3 separate regions of the Homo sapiens genome follow, and all the other regions are linked to region 1. Evidence: promoter capture Hi-C in human tissues and cell types (Jung and others, 2019). All regions are on one chromosome and are shown on one strand. The core of a region is centred on a gene start or on the middle of the fragment in contact, and the rest is flanking DNA. Distances in the headings are between cores, read along the strand shown.

What was found. The method cuts DNA at HindIII sites, captures the fragments that hold promoters and counts their contacts. A contact is called where the count stands out against the background at its distance.
Region 2: a fragment that was not itself captured here is called in contact with the fragment with the promoter of GTF2A2 in region 1 in 1 of the 25 tissues and cell types used here (dorsolateral prefrontal cortex).
Region 3: a fragment that was not itself captured here is called in contact with the fragment with the promoter of GTF2A2 in region 1 in 1 of the 25 tissues and cell types used here (H1 embryonic stem cells).

The regions. Positions count from the first base shown.
Region 1 is chr15:59,655,268-59,659,170 of GRCh38, reverse strand. It overlaps GTF2A2 (general transcription factor IIA subunit 2), which reads left to right and starts at 1,656. Exons shown (of 5, transcript NM_004492.3): 1 at 1,656-1,765. It overlaps BNIP2 (BCL2 interacting protein 2), which reads left to right. Exons shown (of 10, transcript NM_004330.4): 10 at 1-25. RefSeq lists an enhancer at 1,620-1,849. The HindIII fragment of the contact is 8,151 bases long and covers 1-3,903 here.
Region 2 is chr15:60,322,762-60,326,664 of GRCh38, reverse strand. No RefSeq gene overlaps it. Among named protein-coding and RNA genes, the nearest start is that of ANXA2, 73 kb to the left of the region's middle. The HindIII fragment of the contact is 3,315 bases long and covers 574-3,888 here.
Region 3 is chr15:60,275,331-60,279,233 of GRCh38, reverse strand. No RefSeq gene overlaps it. Among named protein-coding and RNA genes, the nearest start is that of ANXA2, 120 kb to the left of the region's middle. The HindIII fragment of the contact is 5,023 bases long and covers 1-3,903 here.

The DNA of each region.
Region 1 (3,903 bases), core at 407-2,906:
ATTTAAATAAATTAATTGGAACGTTCGTCTTTGTCTTTTTATCACATTTTTCTTTCATTATGCTACTAAATTTTTGCTTTGAATTATCCTATAAACCTCTTAAATAATTTCAGACCTTTACACTTGTTTCCCTTTCTATAGTCTAAGTGCTTCTATTCTTTGGGGATTAGAGAGTTCAGCCTGCTTTATTTTAACATCAAAACAATAATGAAACTTTGTGTTTCATAGTTGAGATTTTTTTTTAATTAATGGGGAATCCAAGGATGAAACCATGAGTGGCTTAAAATGAAAACATGGCTTTTTTTTTTTTTTTTTTTTTTTGAGACAGTTTCGCTCTTGTTGCCCAGGCTGGAGTGCAATGGCGCCATCTTGGCTCACCGCAACCTCCGCCTCCCAGGTTCAAGCAATTCTCCTGCCTCCGCCTCCCGAGTAGCTGGGATTACAGGCATGCACCAACACGCCCAGCGAAATTTTTTTTGTATTTTAGTAGAGACGGGGTTTCTCCACGTTGAGGCTGGTCTCGAATTCCTGACCTCAGGTGATTCGCTCACCTCGGCCTCCCAAAGTGCTGGGATTACAGGCATGAGCCACCGCCCCTGGCCGAAAACATGGCTTAAATAAGAAGAACTTGTTTAGTTCATAGACCTGCTCAGAGGTTCCAGCTGATACCACTTGGTGTTTTTTGTGGTTTTGTTGTTGTTGTTTTGCACATACTCTTTAATCACTATTCAGCTATTTTGTAGGATAAACTGCTCTACACATGACTGCTGGGTTTAAGCCAGTTAGTGTACCATGCACCCTGACACCTAAAACAATTTGTGATTTTGCAAACTTGAAATTTATAGTGAAGTATTTATCTTGCATATTAGATGCAAATTTTAAATATAACTTCTCCCAAATTAAAGTTCTTCATGAACTGGTCACAAACTAAAAACTTTGCCTGCAGCCCTGTTTCGAGGGGTAAAGAAGATACCCTGCTTACCCTGCTATAATTTTTTTTTTTTTTTTTTTTTTTGAGACGGAGTTTCGCTCTTGTTTCCCAGGCTGGAGTGCAATGGCGCGATCTCAGCTGACTGCAACCTCCGCCTCCCAGGTACAAGCCATTCTCCTGTCTCAGCCTCCCAAGTAGCTCGAATTACAGGCATGCGCCACCACGCCTGCCTAATTTTTTGTATTTAGTAGAGACAGGATTTCACCATATTATGCTGGTCGCGAACTCCTGACCTCCGGTGATCGACCCGCCTCAGCCTCCCAAAGTGCTGGGATTAAGGCGTGCGCCACCGCGCCCGGCCCCTGCTATAATCTTTTCAGAATTCGTCTGCAAGGTCTTCAACACTGTTACCCTGAACACACTTCCGGCATGAAATATGAATGCCCTACATTTCTTAAATTGTGCATCTAACAATGGAGAAGATTAGTCTCTAAAAATTATAATTCCCTTAGGAACGATTTAGTAAACCTGGTGAATTACTCGAGCAGAGCGCCTGTCCACCACTTTAAGGCTTCAAGCTCCAGCCCGACGCCCCTCCTTCCCTCTCCACGCCCTTCCCTGACAAGGCTTGAGTGGCGGGCGAGAGCAGGGCTGGGCGGGGCCTCCCGTCCCTCGGGCGGGGTGTCACTTCCAGGTTCCGCGAGCACTTCCGGGTCGTCAGCTCAGTTCTGCGGTTTCTGCGGCGGCTGGAGAGGTGGTCGGAGAAGTAGGAACCTCCTGCCGGGCTCGTGGCGGCTTCTGTCCGCTCCGCGGAGGGAAGCGCCTTCCCCACAGGTAGTGGGTTAGGGAGGGCAGGGTTAGGGAGGGAAGCAGGGCCGCGCTCCCTGCCGCCCCCCCGGAGTCGGAGTGCGTTGGTGGGGTAGTCTCTGAGGGCCCTTCGCTCCTGGGATCTGCCCGTTACCGACCGTTGCCGGCAAGGCCCCGCGGCCGGCACCGGAGAAGGGCGGCGAGGCGGCGGTGATGGTCGCGTCCCGTGGCGGGAGGCTCGTCGTTCACGGGGCGCCCACAGAACCCACCTAGGGGAGGTCTTCAGCCCACCACCGTATTTTCAGCCAGGTGAATGTCTTAAAGCATCCACTAGCGCCCTGTGAGTTTTGCCGAATTTCGGAGAGCATTTTTTAAATGTCTCATTCCTGTGCTTTGTAGCTTGTTGTTTGAAGTCTGCCTTCCAACTTTCTTCGTGCGAACTCCGACAAAAGGAACGAATTTTAAACTTGGTGGTTTAATCAAAAAATGCTAGGACGAGTTACTTCCGAATTTGACTTCTAATTTTCTGAACTGCAAAACAAGAAGGGAACAATAAATTTCTGTGGCTGATACCACATCTAAAAGATTAGAACACTTAACAAGGAATTTTTAAAGAATGTAAGAACATTGAAATCAGCACTTTTAACAAACGTTTAACGCAGGGCTATTTTCTAGATAAACTCAAAAATTTGTCAAATGGGACACGATGCACGATTCTGTATTCCTACTCTGTGGAGTTTTTATCTACCTATTGGGACTTCTTGCCCTTTTTAACCCCCTCTCCCCTCCCACACGCATATTATACTTACTGATATTTGCCTTCGTTTACTGAACAGATTTTTTTTTGGCTCCTATTGTGTGCCAGGTACTGTTCTAGACGCCTATTTTACTTAAGTGAACAAAATAAAAAGCTTTGCCCTCATGGAGCTTACATTCTATTAGAGGATGCAGAAAATAAAATATATAATGGTGTTAGAAAGTGATGGTGCCATCAAAAAAAAAAAGAGAAATATAAAGGAGTACGGGAAAGTTCCAGAGTGGAGGTGGGAACTGGTATTTTAAAGATGACGGTGGTCAGTTTGAGCCTCATTTAGTAGGTGTTATTTGAGCAAAGACTTGAAGGAATTAAGAAAATTTGCTAAGTAAATATCAGGAAGAGCATTCAGGCAGATAGGAAAGCCAATACAAATGCTTTTAGGCCTGTCATGTTTGAGGAATAGCAAGGAAGCCAGTGTATCTGGAGAGGGATGAGCAAGAGTTTTGGGGGTGGAGGGACAAGAAGATAAAGTCAAAGAGATCATGGTAGCCGGATCATTGTAAAGGCTGATAGAAGCCATGGGAGATTTTGAATAGAGGAGAGGTATGTTGTAACTGAAGTTTTAGAAGATCACCCTGGCTGTGAGTTGTGATTAGAGTGTAGGGGTGAGTGTAGAAGCAGGGAAATCATTTAGGAGATTTTTGCAGTAATCCAGATGACGAGAGTGGCCCAGGTCAGGGTGATAACCGTAGGGATGGTGAGAAGTGGTTGGATTCTGAATGCATTTTGAAGGTAGGCCTTACAGTATTTGCTAGGAATTGGATATGGAGAGTGAGATAGAGGGAGTGGAGGATGAAATCAAAGGTTTTGCCCAAGCTCGTAGAAGTATGGAGTTCTTTAAGCCACGATGCAAAAGATAACAAATAGAGATGTTGAGTAGGCAGCTAGATTCAGGAGTGAGAAGTTCTATGCTATATGAATTTGGGGATCATCAGCAGTGGTACTTAAACCATGAGAATAAATGTTATCCGTAAGGAATGGGTGTAGACGGAAAGCAGCAGAGGCCTAAGGACTGTGTCCTGTGATATTAAGAGTTTAGCGAAAACGGGATCAACCAGCAAACAGTATTAAGAAGGATGAACTTGTGAGTTAGGACAATCCGAAAAGGGCAGTGTCCCAGAAGCCAAGGTAAGATCCTGTACGAAAGAGGAGGGAGTAATCAGCTGTGTCCAATATTCTGAGTGAGGCTAGAGAATTAGCTTTAGCATTGCCATTGATGACCTTCACCAACCTGTTTCCTTAGAGTGCTAGAGGCAAAAATTAGCTTAAGAGAAAATAGGAAAAAAGGAATTGGGAGACAGTGAATACAGACAAAACTAAGGGATTTTGCTGCAAAGGGGAACTGAGA
Region 2 (3,903 bases), core at 982-3,481, 670 kb before region 1:
TTTTATGGATCATTTTCCTAAGAGTTCTAAGTCTAGAAATGTGATTAAAGAAAACAAAAACAAACAAACAAACACAAACAAAAAAACATTTTCCAGTCTAGACGCAGCCATCAGCGAAAATGCTCCATTACCTGTTACCTCTTCTAGGATACAGATGTTTGAAAAAGAAAGTGGGCAAGAAGCTATGTGACGGTCTCTGAAGTAAATTAAAGCCCTGGACTGCATTTCCCTAGTAGTCAGATAAAACTTGAGGGCATAATTGCCAACAATGAACACCCTTTCCGTTTAACCAATCTTTACTGATAATAAAATAATTAGAATAATTTATGTGTCTGTGCTATTATTAACGTGGCTTTGCTTAAAGGAGATTCAGCTGGTTGTTCACGGACGTTAAGAGGGTCTCTCCTCCCACCTTCTGAGATGACATGTTTATACCCAGGCAGCACTTCTAAATTTTTAATAGAGAGGAAGAGATTCCATTTAATTAGGTAGAGTGACTTGTTTATATGCAGGTTATACATTTACGAGTTCTCATGAAGAACGGAAAATACCCATTGAGCAGCCTTTGAAGTTTCGCTTGTTTAAAGATAATTGTAAACCCAGCTCAATGGAAACAGCATCTCAGTCAATCAAGTGATTTGAGCATAGAGTAGAGGGAGTTAAATCCAGGTTAAATAATTGCACAAATCACATGTCGATCAATGTTCAAAGGATTTTTTTTCTCTCAAATCAAAGCTCTTCCATCTTACATTTGATTGGAGTATTGAAACTGGGTTATAGAAAAAAATGTTAAGGATGTAACAAGATTTAAAAATGTTAAGGATGTAACAAGATTTTTTTTTACTTAAAAATTATCCACCATTTATATAAAATCCTTTCTCTTTTTTCCTTTTGATTTTTACTTCATATATTCTATATAGCTTATTTTATTTGTGAATTAGGTAACACAAACATGTCACTGTCACAAAAGCATTTTTCTACATTCATAAATCCTTTCTGGAAATGAGAAATCATTTTTTTCTTAAACTCTGACCTAAGGTAAAAATTCCAAATATTTGCGTGCCTTGGATGGTATTGCAAAAAGGCCACCTAAACTAATGAGGTTTCTTGAATTGGTGTACAGAAATGAATTACAATGCTTAAGAAGTTGAAGAGATTTCTCGTGATTTTTAAAGTAATATTAATGATCGTATGGAATGAGAAATTGAGCTTTGTGTTATTACTATAGGATTAGTTTTTAGTTCCTGAAAGCTGGTCTATTTATAGGTATATAGGATGGAATTAAACTCTGAAAAGGTTAATTTTTAAAAAATGTTCTGTAGAAGGTCTATTTCCTATCACCTTTTATAAGTTTCCCTTTGAATTGTAGTTGCAATATGCATTTGGAGTGAGTCCAGGAAGCTTGAATAATAATGTAATCCCCGGGGGAGCCGCTCTTAGCAGAGTGGGTAGGATAAATGAAATGCTACATACAGATTCCTGACAATATATTCATCTTGATATTATCGCAGCTGATGGATTGTAGCAAGGCTGTTCCTAGGGCTTCCCTTTGCCATCTTCAGTGTCTTTATCATTTCAGTGCGAAAAAGAAAAACCCCATCACACAAAAGAAATAAAACATCGTTAATTGAAAAGTAGCACCTTAAAAATATTTGTGGTAGGAAAAATATTTGTTTTGCTGCAAGGAGAACAGAGAGTAGGGAATAAAAGACTAAAGAAGAGAGAAAAAGAAACCAGTGTCCTTTGCTGAGCTCGCTGGCCACATGTAAGGCTCTCAAACATTTTAACCGTTGCACATCATTTTCTTTTTCTTCTGTGTGCTTGTCTAATTTATTTTCATAAGAAAACTCTGTTCCTCTTGTGCGGAGCCAGCATAATGTCGCTGAAATCTCGGATGATGTGGTTTTAAGATCAAACAAGACTTAATAAGGTGGGATTTGTTTTCCTATTGACCTTCTTATTGCTTGGGTCCCCCTGACAAGCTTCGAAGTGAACGGGAGGAATTAGGGTAGCAGCTCTTCAGAGAAACTCATCTTGGCTGGGGCTCCACCTTGAAACGGGAGTGCAAGAGATTGCAAATGGCTCCAAACGAGGGGGCACACACAGACTTGCAAAATGGAAGCGGGTTCTTCCATTGCAGAAAGAAAGAGGGGCACCCAGCAGGATAAACATTCAAAGTGGAAGACACTGCTAGTGGATTTATTTTTATTTTAGGTTCTGACAGATTGGCCAATGTCCTTGATTGGAGTTGGAGTTCATCAGAATGACTAGTTCTGGCCTAATTTAAGAAACAAAACCTCCTAACTTTGTGGGGGCTGCTGGAGAGCAGGGCAGGGCATCATCCATCTAAGAGAAAAACAAAGGAGTTTGGTCCTTTTTTAAAAATGAAAGTTTCCTTAGGAGTCAAAACGGACTGAATTTAAAGGAAATTAAAGTGAGAAAAAGAGTTTTGTGAACAAATGAAACTCTCTTCCAGTAAAAGGAAAGAAGGAGGAGAAAAATGTTTGAAGGTGGGGCGAATGCATTGTTACTAAAAGTAAATAATTCCAGCCCAGTTTTGCAAAAATAGAGAATTGAACCCAACAGCCACTCACGGTCTTATCTGATACCCTAACTGAACTAGAGCGCATTTACAGTTTTTCTTCTATCAGGGTGAATAACACATGTTTCATGTTCTTACAGAACTAGCGTGGCAGCATTTGCCCACCACTGGTAAACAAGAAAAGATGTCTATAGATTCCCCATTATTTTAGGCGGCCACTGGAGTCAGCCCAGGCATTCTGAGCTGCTTCTGCCCATCTTTTAATATTGTCCTTCTGCCTACCTTTTAGTGTTGCAGAAAAGCATGCGGGAGAAACAAACAGAAGGGAGTAGCCAGGACAAGTCAAATTCTGTCGAAGACACTGAGACTCCCTGTGCCGAGAGCTGACTTCTGCAAGCTCTTTGGCAAGGTATTTACGGATGCAATATTTCTGTCAATTCTCCTCCCTTATTTCACTCTTTGTTCCCTTAATGGGCGAATTAGCCTCAGGTTCTTGCTAAATCTATTCCTTTTGGGAAAAGAAAATGATGTACATCGTTATAATCATGCACTACCAGGAGAAATGCCAGTTGGAGCAGAGTGTTCTCTTTCAGGGGTGTTTTTTCCCTTGAGAAGTGGCTGCTTGAATGTCAGCTGCTTGGTTGGCCTCACACTTTGTTTCCTCATTGTGGACCTGCGTGCAGTCCTGCGGGATGAAGGGAAGAAGATATTCACAACTGTCCTAGTGAAAAATTCAGGATGCACCTAGTTATATTTGCTCAAGGGACAACTTCTTTCACTGTTGGAGATAAGGAACTTAGGCCGGGCGTGGTGGCTTACGCCTGTAATCCCAGCACTTTGGGAGGCTGAAGCAGGTGGATCACCCGAGGTCAGGAGTTCAAGACCAGCCTCACCAACGTGGAGAAACCCCATGTCTGCTAAAAAATACAAAAATTAGCCAGGCGTGGTGGCTGGTGCCTGTAATCCTAGCTACTCCGGAGGCTGAGACATGAGAATTTCTTGAACCCGGGGGGTGGAAGTTGCAGTGAGCCGAGATCACGCCATTGCACTCCAGCCTGGGCAACAGAGTGAGACTCCGTCTCAGGGGCGGGGGGTGGAGTGGAAAAAGAAGGCACTCAAAGACCGGCTACTCCAAGCTTTTCATTTCACAGATGGGTAAACAGAGGCCCTTTGCAGTTCAGTGAATTGCTCAAGCTCCTCAAAGTGTAGTTTTTGGACCAGCAGCATCGGTGTTCCCTGGAGCTTGTTAGAAATGCAGCAACTCAATCTCTAACCCAGACCTAATGAATCAATCTGCAATTTAACAAGATCCTCAATGCATGGTAGAGTCTGAGAAGCACTGATGCCCCACACCCAAACTA
Region 3 (3,903 bases), core at 486-2,985, 620 kb before region 1:
GATCTGACCTCCACCTAACTTGGCTAGCCTTGTCTCCGGTTCACTGCCTTGTTAATTTACATCCACACTGAACTTCTTTGTTTTTCTGAACGTGTTATGCTTCTCATTCTCTTACCTTTTCGTATTTTATTTCTTTTGGTCAGAACCCCATTCATCTCCCTGACAGCCCCCTATTCAGTTTCCTAGCCTCAGTTCCGGGGCTACTTTCTCTGTGAAGCCTGGAAAGGCATCACAGGGCAGCTTTCACAGACTCCCATGGCTGGCTCACGGGACCTCCCAATGCTTAGATTAAACCACGTATGCTGCCATTTTTGTGGTGAACATGGTTATCATAAAAGTGATTTTCTTTTGATGCCAGGGTCCATGTCATGCCATCTTTGAACCACCAGTCCCTCAGAGTGTCTTGTTTGTGGAAGGTGCTTTTGGAATGAGGGGGAGCTGAGTAAGACTAGGGACAAGGAAGCTATGAGAAGAAAGATGAGCAGGGACGCTGTGGGGCTGCATCCTGAGATTAAGGCAAAAGGACAAGTTACCTCTCTATAAATGCCAGTGCTGCACCTATGTCGTGGTTCCACCCTATTCACCCTGTGGTGGAGGAAGCTAATGGTCCAGCTGTATTCCTTCTTCTCTTCTTCCTTTAATAATTGAACTGGAGAGTTTAGTTGGGCATGCGGTTTCCCAGCCAGAGGTAACATCTCTCACATTCTCTTACAAGATATGGTCAAGTGGCAAAGTTCTGGCCAATGGGAAGTGAGAGGAAGAAATGTGTGGCAATTTCAGGTTGTGCCCTTAAAAGGCATAACGCACTTCCTCCTGGACATTTTCCTGCTCTACATTGCATATTCTGTAGATGTAGTGGTGGGTGTTAGAGATGGAAACACTCAGTTGCACATGGCAGAACTGCCCCACTAGCCTGGGCACCAGCCCATTGACTGTGAACATGGAAGGAAAGCTTCCTTGTCTGACCCATAGTAGTTTCAGATCTCTGCAGAGACTGTACCTAAACACTTATGTTAAAAAATCATGAAGCATTTCAAGCACACACAATTTTGATATTTTTTGTGATATGTACTTCATATATTTTCTTTTCCATTTCTCTTCACTTTCCATTTTAAACTAAATAACATGTTATGTTTGTAACATTTTTGTGTGTTTTAAACACAAAAAACATTTACAAAAAACAGCATACTTTTTCCAGTCACTATTTGGTTTTTGAGATTTGTCTGTTGATTCACATATGGTGGGATCAATATTTTAACTACTATGTACCATTTCACTGAATGAATAGAATTCAATTTTATATAGAATATAATTCCACTTAAATAACAGGATTCAGTGATCCTCTTATTGAGGCATCTTGAGGTTGTTTCTAATTTTTAACTATTATAAATAATTGCTATATAACCCTTGTACATGTCTGTTGTGCTTATATGCAAGATTTTCAGTAGAACAGACACCTAGAGACTCTTGGGTTTTAGAATATACACAGCTCCACTTTTACAGAATTTTGCTAAATTACTCTCCAAAGCCTTTTTGTTAAAAGATAAAAATGAGCATTATATCAGAGCTCCTATTGTTCTACATCTCTGCCATTATGTGATATTGCTGGGCTTTAAATTTTTTGTCTATTTGAGGAGTTTTAAAAATTTACATTTTTTGATTACTACCAAAGTTAAGCATCATTTTGTTACTTGACCATTCTGTTCCCCTCAACTGTGAACTGAATTAATTTTTATTATTAATTTAAGGGAGATTTATTTTATTTAATTTATAATTACCACTTTTATTTTAGATTTGGGGGTACATGTGTACGTTTGTTACATGTACACAGCATGATGCTGATATTTGGGGTATGATTAATCCTGTCACCCAAGTAGTGAGTATAGTACCAATAGTTAGTTTTGCAACTCTTGCCCCTCTCCCATCCTTTCCCACCTAGTAATCCCAAGTGTCTCTTGTTGCCATCTTTATGTCCATGAGCATCCAGTGTTTAGCTCTCTTAGAAGTGAGAACATATGATATTTTATTTTCTTTTCCTGCATTAATTCACTTAGGACAATAGCCTCTAACCTGCATCCATGTTGTTGTAAAGGATATGATTTTTTCTTTTTTGTGACTGTTTAGTATTCCATGGTGTATATATACCACATTTTCTTTATCCAGTCCATCATTGATGGGTACCTAGGTTGGTTCCATGTCTTTGCTATTGTGAATAGTGCTATCATAAACATACACACACATGCATGTTTTTGGTAGAATGGCTTTTCTTTTGGATATATACCTAGTAATGAGATTGATGGGTTGAATGGTAGTTCTGTTTTAAGTTCTTTGATAAATCTCCAAACTGTTTTCTACAGTGGCTGAACTAATTTACATTCCTACCAACGGTGTATAAGTATTTTTTATAATGTTTTGAATTTTTTATTTCCATAGGTTTTTGGGAACAGGTGGTGTCGGTCACATAAACAAATTCTTTTGTGGTGATTTCTGAGATTTTGGTGCACCCATCACCTGAGCAGTATAGTGTATAAGCATTCTTGAGGAAGTTTTAAAGAAAGATAATTTATTAATTCCTTGTTAGTTATATTTGAAAATGTTTTCTCCTTATCTTTATCTTATGTTTTTATCTCCTGGTATTTTTTTGCTATGCAAAATTTAAAATTTAGTATAGTCAAATTTATGGATCACTTTTTCTTAATAATTTCTGCTTGTTGAATCTTGTTTAAGAAATGTTTCTATACCCCAAGGCCATGTTGGATGTTAATTATAGTGTGAGGTATATGGAGGCTTTTTGTACTATCTTTGTAATTTTTCTGTAAATCTAAAACTTTTAAAATGAAAAAGTTTATTTAAAAATTACTGTGATTAGTATGTTAAAGAACAGATATTAAAATTGAAAATTTTACCAGAAAATGAGAATTTATAAAACATAATTAAGTGGAAATTATAAAAATAAAAATATAGTAAGTGAAATTAAAAGCTTCATATATGGATTTAACAGCACATTAGACTGTGAAAGAGATGAGCAATGAACTGGAAGACAGGTCAATAGAAAATATTCGGACAAGAACATGGAGAAAAAATGTATAAAATAAAGCATAAATGTAAGAGACATATGGAACAAAGTGGAATATTTTCAGTTAAAATTTATAAATGAAAAGAGGGAGATAATGTGGTAGAACCAATGTTTGAAGAGCTACCAAGCAAGGTTTCCAAAAATGAGAAAAGATATGAAGTCAGCTAAAATTAAAAAGGTTTATGAATCCCCAAATAGAATAAATTTAAATAAAATTCATCTAGGCCCCTCTTAATACAACTGTAGAAACCAAAGGCAAAGAGAAAAATCTTAAAAGCAACTACAGAAAGAAATTATTTCAACAAACAACGATAAGACATACAGCTAACTTTTCAGCATGAATAATGGAAGTCAGGAGTTAATGGAATGAGGTCTTTAAAGTACTGAAAGGAAATAGGAGCATTCCGGAATTATATATTGAGGAACAAGAAAATAAATGAGCTATCCAGCTGTGAAAAGACATGGAAGAATCTTAAGTGCATATTCCTAAGTGAAACAAAACAGTGTGAAAAGGCAACAAACCGTATGATTCCAACTACATGACATTCTAGCAAAGATAAAATTGCAGAGACAGTAAAAATATCAGTTTTGCCAGAGGGTTTGAGGGGAAAATGTCAGAGGAGCGGGGATACATAGGTAAAACAGAGAGGAATTTTAGGGTGGTGGAAATATTCTATGTGATACTGTAATGGTGGATACATGACATTATGCATTTGTCAAAACCCATAAAACTATACAACACAAGGTGTGAATCTTAAACTACGGACTTTAGTTAATTAACAAAAGTCACCAGATATTTCCTTTGATCAATGCCAGACATTTATTAA